Regions from separate parts of the Homo sapiens genome. Here region 2 is linked to region 1. Evidence: promoter capture Hi-C in 16 types of primary human blood cells and fetal thymus (Javierre and others, 2016). All regions are on one chromosome and are shown on one strand. Each heading gives the region's core, a stretch centred on a gene start or on the middle of the fragment in contact. The rest is flanking DNA. Distances are from core to core; before and after follow the strand shown. Region 1 holds the start of SCN2B (sodium voltage-gated channel beta subunit 2). Region 2 holds the start of TMEM25 (transmembrane protein 25).

Region 1 (3,666 bases), core at 732-3,231:
CACCACTGCACTGCAGCCTGGGTGACAGAGCGAGACCCTGTCTAAAAAAAAATAATAAAATAAAAAAATAAAAAATTGAGATATCACATGTAAAGTGCTTGGCACAGAGTTTATGCTCAAAAATATTAGTTGCTCCCTGTTTGGTACACAAAGGGCCCATCACAAATGCAGGTGACTGCTGCATGCGAATCTCTGCCCTACTTAACCATCTCCCCAGGAGTATGGGGGTCACCTCTGCTTAGGACCACCTTGGACTCCACCCACCAAGTTCTCCTACTTATGACGTTAGCTTATTTTTTCTTCCTTCTTCAAAAGAAAAGTTTTAAACATACACAAAAGAAGAGAGAACTATATGACAAACCCTTTACACCCATCACCAGCTAGTTTCAATTATCAAGCAAAACAACTAGTCTCGTGTCACCTATTCTCCCATCTCTTTTTTTCGTTGAATATATATATATGTATTTTTGAGATGGAGTCTCACTCTGTGGCCCAGGCTGGGATGTAGCGGAGTGATCTCGACTCACTGCAACCTCCGCCTCCCAGGTTCAAGCAATTCTCCTGCCTCAGTCCCCCCAAGTAGCTGGGATTACAGGCACACGCCACCACACCCGGCTAACTTTTGTATTTTTAGTAGAGACAGGGTTTCACCATGTTAGGGAGGCTGGTCTCGAACTCCTGACCTCAGGTGATCTGCCTGCCTCGGCCTCCCAAAGTGCTGGGATTACAGGTGTGAGCCACCCCGCCCGGCCACCCATGTGTGTCTTTAACAGATAGAGATGTTAAAGGACAAAACCACATTTTATCAGACCCAACAAAATTAAGAATGATTCATTAATACAATCTACTATGTAGTTCATATTTAACTTTTCCCAATTGTCTCAAAAACTTTTCTTTCCTGTTGATTTGTTTGAATCAGGTTTATCCAAAGGCCTGTGTTACATTCAATTGTAAGATCTCTTGGGTATTTTTCTATCAGCCTGCTTCAACATGTTCTGTTTTCAGAGGAAACGCTAGAATGAGGAAAGCATTACCCCTTGAAAGTCTCTCCAACTCACTTTCCTGAACCCTTTTCAATAACACAAAAACAAGCATCTCCTTTTTTTTTTTAGGTTTTTTTTTTTTTTTTCCCTCTGGAGGCAGGGCCCAGGCTGGAGTGCGGTGCAGTAGCTGGGACAAGAGGCATGCGACATTATGCCTGGCTAAATTTTGTATTTTTAGTAGAGATGGGTTTTGCCATGTTGCCCAGGCTGGTCTTGAACTCCTGGACTCAAGCAATCCATCCGGCCTCCCAAAGTGCTGGAATTACAGGTGTGAGCCACTGCGTCAGCCTGGGGGTGTTTTTAAATGATAAAAGGTGTTTCCCTTTCCAGAATCTTTAAAATAAATGGATTCCTCTAATAGCTTTCAAAATCCAACAATCATCCCAGTGAAGTCAAAAAGCAGGGTTTGTATTATTTCTTGTTTTAGAGGGTAAAAATTTCTGGGATTTTGTTCTTTTCAAAATGACTTTTTTATGCCCTCCCACCTGCTTTTTGAAATCCACCAACCACAATATTTACCCCATCCCCCTTTTCTCTCCCCCCCATCTCTCTCTCTCTCCTTTACACACTCCCTCTCTCTCTCTTTTTAGCAGCAACATACAAGCCGGCCATATTAGAGAGATGGAAATAAAGCTTCCTTAATGTTGTATATGTCTTTGAAGTACATCCGTGCATTTTTTTTTAGCATCCAACCATTCCTCCCTTGTAGTTCTCGCCCCCTCAAATCACCCTCTCCCGTAGCCCACCCGACTAACATCTCAGTCTCTGAAAATGCACAGAGATGCCTGGCTACCTCGCCCTGCCTTCAGCCTCACGGGGCTCAGTCTCTTTTTCTCTTTGGGTAAGTTAGACACATCTGCATGCTCCCGAGGGTTCAGAAGTGTAGCCGCAATGTGAAGAGGATGGGGGCAGGGGATAGGAAAGAAGACATTGCTAGCGCTTTCCCTCTGTGTCCTTGGGAGGGGAGGTGCTGGGGACTGGAAGGGACGTTGCTGGGGAGTGCAGAACCCTGGGACTACTTAGTCACAGAAATGTTGGGTCAGGGGATCTGAGTGTTGCTGGGGGCTGACAATTGTCAAGGGAGGTGAATCTTCTCTGGATTTCCCCTAAGTGGACCTACGTGGCGGTGGGGCAGAGAGTGGATTGACCTGCAGTCTCTTCAGGGATTATTTTTTGGAGTTGCTGCAAATGCGGGGTCCTGGGACTTAATGCTCCCTTAAGGGGCTTCTTTTCAGAAGCTTGATCCTGGTGGATTTAGGGTATTAGGAGAGTGTGCAGGGGAGCTGGTGGCAGAAAGTTGAGTCTGGGTCTGGCTTCTTGGCACTCGGTCTCACTGATCTGTTGGAACGTGTGTGGGAGTAGGTGGGAAGCGGGCTTGGGGAATGATGTCTGGGTTGGGAGGAGACCTGCTGAGGCACGCACTGATGGAGAAGGCACCTTTGGCTTGGGCCGGATGGAATGGAGGAAGGGCCAGGTGTAGAGATTCAGGAAAAAAATGGAACCCACAGGCTGAGCGAGGTTGCAGCCCTTTAAATCCAGCCTCAGAACTGCCCAGCCCAGTCTTGCAGACTGTCCTGTCAAGTGTTTGTATTTGACCACTCAGAGACTTCCTGGTGGGGAAGTGGGCTAGAAAGTTATTTGCAAGCCTGCTTTGTAGAGTTTCATTCTTGCTCCTAAACTTACTTATTGCTGGAGCAGCAACTGAGAGTCAAGTCCAAGGACTGTTGATGGAACTATTCCCCACCACAAAGGCTCTCTCTCTTTCTGTGGTGTGATGTGCTGGGTTTGGAGTAGGAGTGCTAAACACAGACAGTGCAGAGGCCCTGCCAGCCTGCTTTGCTGAGTTACTTGGCATATTAACATCAGAGCAGGAATGCTATGGAATCTCTGGCAGGACCTGGGTTTCAAGCCACCTTTGTCATTTACGTAATGATCACAGGCAAGTTACTCAACCCCTCTGAGCTTCAGTTCCCTCCCGGGTAAACTAAAGAATGCCTACTGCCTGACGTGTTTGTGATTTGGTGCATGGCAGGAACTCAACGATGGCTAACATAAGAATGCTTTTCGTGAGCCCAGGCACTGTGTATCTTGTTTAGCCCTCACAGCAATCGGAGGTAGATTCTATTATACTCAGGTTACAGGGAGGAAACAGATGACTATGGTAACGGGAGCTGAAATTTGAACTCCCTGTGTCTGACTTCAGCACATTCTCTTAAACGTTGGATTCCACTCCCCAATGTTCAAGAAATGGCACTGCTATATTAACAGTACCTAATTGATCAGAGTCTCAGGACAGGCTGAAAGAAGGGGAGTTGGGTGAGTGGCCTGTTGTAAGGAGGCCCAGCTGGAGGACAGGACCCTTTCCTCAGGAGTTAGGAAGCACTTCGTGCAGGAGAGAAGCCGCCTGGTGAGAGCCATGGCTAAGTAAAGATAGAAAGGGGGCTCAGTGACCAGGACCCAGAGCTCTGGGCTAGGGTGAGGAAGAGGGAGTCTGCGATGAAGAGGTCTGAGTGTTTGGGGTGGGGAGATGGTAGTGGGAGGAAGCTAAAGCTTCTGCAAAGCTGAGTGGGAGAGGATGCAGGAATGGGGACCTTGAACTTGAACTTGATTGGTGCTGTAATGA
Region 2 (3,666 bases), core at 593-3,092, 350 kb before region 1:
CGATCCAGGTGACATTGGCCGGCGGGTTGGCACGCACCAGGGCAAACAGGACAACCAGGAGGCCTGGGCCCTGAGCTTCCTGGTACTTGGCGCCGACTTGGGCAATCTCTGGCTTGACTGGTACAAAGCAGAGGCCAATATGCTCTCACCACAGCCCCTCATACTTCTAGCCCTTTCTTCCCAAACCCAGATGGGAGCCAGGGGCCTGGGCCTCTCCTCAGAGGGGATGCTGAGGAACAGGATGGCTGGGTCTGCCAGAGAGGCAGCATTTCGGAGTGATTATGAGTGTAAATACTAGAGCCAAATGCCCAGATGTGAATCCTGGCTCTGCTTCTTACCAGCGGGATCATCACCCTGGGCAGATTGCTTACCTCTTTCTGCCTCAGTTTTCTTATTTGTAAAATGGTGACGACAATAGTAATGACCTCATGGGGTTACTCAGAGGATCAAATGAGTTCATATTTGCAAAGTGCTTAAGTGTCTGCTAAATGTCCTGCGGACCACCTGCCTGGTGGGTGCTGGGGGTCCCTGGGCAAAGAACCTATCTCCCTGCCCACCTCAGGGCCACTCACATTGCACATTAAGGATGACAGAGGCGTTGGCTGATCGGCCACTTCTGGGGTCCTGCAGAGAGCAGTTGAGCTCATGCTGGGCCCGATGGGCAGTGACAGTGAAGGTGCTGGTGCCTCCAGAGAAGGCCTCCCCTCCCACGCTCAGCAGTCTTGAGGTGCTGGCCTCCTGCAGCTGTCCATCCAGATACCAGGCCAATCTGGGGGTGCCAGGCCCCCCTGCCACCCGGCAGGTGAAGGCGTGGCGTTCATTCTCCCGAAGTGCCCGCTCAGCCCAGGTCTGACCATCTATTTGTGGCTCCAACTCCCCCCAACCTGGAACACAGCAGGAGGCCTCTGGGAAGGGCTCAGGCACGGTTGGTACTGTGCTGTGACCAGGAATTGGCCCAGTGAGAAGAGCAGCAGGCCAAAGGAAAGGGCACCTGAGTCCTCTCACCAGGGACTGGCTGGTTGGACCTAGGGTAGGTGGGTGAAGGGGACAGGGACTCCAGGGCTTGGGGCCTGGAGTGGGTACCCAAACAGAAGTGCAGACAGGGGAGAGAGGGGGCTTTGGAACCCAGAAGGACTTGGTCAACGACTGAACAGGGGTGTACCTGAGCTCAGAAGGGCTGGCAGGAGCAGCAGTGTGTGCCGGAGGGCGGCTGGGCCTGGAGGCAGCGCCATGGTGGCCCGGGCCTAGGCCCTAGGCTGCTGAGAGAAGGGGGCGGGCCTGTCAGCCAGGTGACAGCAGGCAGGCCTAGCAATTGCTCCAGGAATTTACTCTCCAGAAACAAAAAGAACCATGTACGGAAACGCAAATGTAGACCAGCCCCCAGTGGCGAAGGCACGGACACGAACGGCAAAGCCCAAAGGCACAGACCCACCCAGCAGACACATGGACATCCTGCAGGCGCAGAAGCGAGCACTGACTCCAGGCTACAATACAAAGAGGCACACACCCGCAGATACGCAGAAGCAACGAGCATCCGTGCAACCACACCTTGCACACACGCACACTCACACACATACTCCACGCGCCCCTCCCCCAAAGGGATCGCCTTTCTCCTAATCCTATTCTCTCTCCTGCCCTGTTCCCATCCTCTCTCCTGCCCTGTTCTCTCTCCCATCCCTCGCCCTACGCCCCCTTTCCTGATGTTGGTGGCTCCGGTGGATGTCGGCGGAAGAGGAGAGGGTCGGAGGGTGGGGTCGCCGAGCATCCCGCCCCCGCCCCCCGCCACCGGGGCGGCTCACCTGGCTCCCTCCCCGAGCGCCGCCGGAGCAACTGCTCAGGTCTGATGAGCACCGCAGTCCGCTGCAGGGGCGGGGGCTGCGCCAGGCGGGGCCAATCGATGCCCGACCACGGGCCCGAGGGGCCCTTACCCGGCAGGTGGGCGGCCGCGGCTCACCACCCCCCGGCTGGTCCCCAGCCCGCGCCGAGTACCCCCGAGTGCCCTTCTCTCCGGGCGCGGGCAGGACGCAGGAGCAGGCGGAGTCGGTGAGGCCCGACGGCTTTATTGGTTCAGGGCCCAGTCCCGTCCCCTCGCCCGCGGACGCCCGGGTCCGCGGCGCTCAGCGGCTGTCACGGGGGCGGCGCAGCTGCCCCATCATGTCGGCCAGCATGCGGTTGCACAGCGCGGCGTAGGGGTTGAGCAGCACCAGCTGGCGCCGCGCGAAGGGGCTGCCCAGCCGTGCCGCCCTCTCGAAGTCCCTGCGGGCGTCGTCGTCTCGGCCCTGCAGCCGCGCCAGGAGTCCGCGCTGCACAAAGCTCTGGCGGGCGGCGCGGCCCCGGCCGCCGCTCAGCTCCACCGCGCGTTCCAGATCCTCCAGGGCGCCTGCGGGACCGACGAGACGGGCGGGGCGGGGGTCAGCGGAGGCCAGGGCGGCCTTGCCCGAGCCCCAGCCCACCTGCGGCCGCGCGGATCACCGTGGTTCTTGCGGCTCCCGGGCGTGGCCATTTACAACCCGCCTCGCACCTGCTAGAGGTACGGATCGTTATTCCCATTACACAGATGAAGACTGTGGAAGAGTTAAGCTCTACAGCCAAGCCACTTAGTGGCAGAGCTGGGACTGAAGTCCAGGTCTCGCCTTGTTCCTATTATTTTCCACCGCTAATACACGAAAACATGAACGTTGCAGGATTCTGAATGGCCACTATGTTTATGAGTCTGGCCCACTGCCCGGGCAAGTAGCAGCCAATTTATTCCACACCTGTTATTAAGCATCCACTATGTGCCAGGTGACTGACTCTGAATGTCAGGGTTCAAAAAATAATATTAACCGCACAATCATTTCTTACAAGTACAATCAAGACAGTTTCTCATTGTTTTCCTTTTGAGGGCCGTTTTCTCTTTTCCATTGCTTTCTTTAGAACACCTTCTCTCTCCCCTGTATCCTGGACTGATTGCCTTTCATCATTCTTTGGTTATCTCCATGTATCTAATTTCCTTGGTCCTGGAGCCAGAGCTGGCCTGCACCATTTTTATTGTTATTATTCTCATAAAATACTTGGGTTGGGCCTCAGAACTCTGAACTCAGAACTTCAGGCAGCCAGCCACCTTCTTAAAGTCCACCAGGCTGGCTTCTTTCGGGCTCTGCTTCAATTCACTCATGTTCTCTAGTCCCCCAAAGAGCCTGAGCCTCCGGAGAAGCGCTCAGAATGCAGTACTCCTTGGTTTCCCTCGGAGGAGCTGGTCTGGAGGAATCTCCAGTTGGAATCACCACTGCATCTCTCTGGGGTTTTGGTCTGCAGGCTGTCTCCAGTGATCTGGGGCAGATAAGCCTGGATAAGGGGCTCCTGGGAGGTTCCCATTGTTCCTGGAGTGGACTCAAAACTCCCTAGCCTGGCATTGCTGGTTCTGGGAGCACCTGTGTCACCACTGCTCCTAACAGTCAAGTAGTACTAGGTTTCCGTGGTTTATACCTTCACATTAGCCTCATCTTTGGTCCCCAGCATGGTCCCATTGTCTTCACTTAATTAGAATAACCTGAATGCAGCAGGAGTTTTGGACCTCTACAGACTGTACCTTCTCCACCCACCAACTAACTCCCACTCATCCTTCAAAACTCGCCCTTCAGGAACAGGTCCCACGCTGACCCCTCTCGAACTTGTTTTGCTGGT

What was found. The method cuts DNA at HindIII sites, captures the fragments that hold promoters and counts their contacts. A CHiCAGO score of 5 or more calls a contact.
Region 2: a contact is called between the fragment with the promoter of TMEM25 here and a fragment that was not itself captured in region 1, in 3 of 17 cell types (activated CD4 T cells, total CD8 T cells and fetal thymus). The highest score is 7.0, in activated CD4 T cells.

Annotation. Positions count from the first base shown.
Region 1 is chr11:118,174,580-118,178,245 of GRCh38, reverse strand. SCN2B (sodium voltage-gated channel beta subunit 2) reads left to right here and starts at 1,607. Exons shown (of 4, transcript NM_004588.5): 1 at 1,607-1,884. The coding sequence starts at 1,815. The HindIII fragment of the contact is 605 bases long and covers 1,679-2,283 here.
Region 2 is chr11:118,529,368-118,533,033 of GRCh38, reverse strand. It overlaps TMEM25 (transmembrane protein 25), which reads right to left and starts at 1,842. Exons shown (of 9, transcript NM_032780.4): 1 at 1,800-1,842; 2 at 1,163-1,259; 3 at 573-884; 4 at 1-117. The coding sequence starts at 1,232. TTC36 (tetratricopeptide repeat domain 36) reads right to left here. Exons shown (of 3, transcript NM_001080441.4): 3 at 2,041-2,380. The coding sequence ends at 2,118. TTC36-AS1 (TTC36 and KMT2A antisense RNA 1) reads left to right here and starts at 2,259. Exons shown (of 3, transcript NR_120574.1): 1 at 2,259-2,530. RefSeq lists silencers at 1,595-1,694, 1,725-2,164, 2,285-2,564, 3,086-3,380. The HindIII fragment of the contact is 5,363 bases long and covers 1-3,666 here.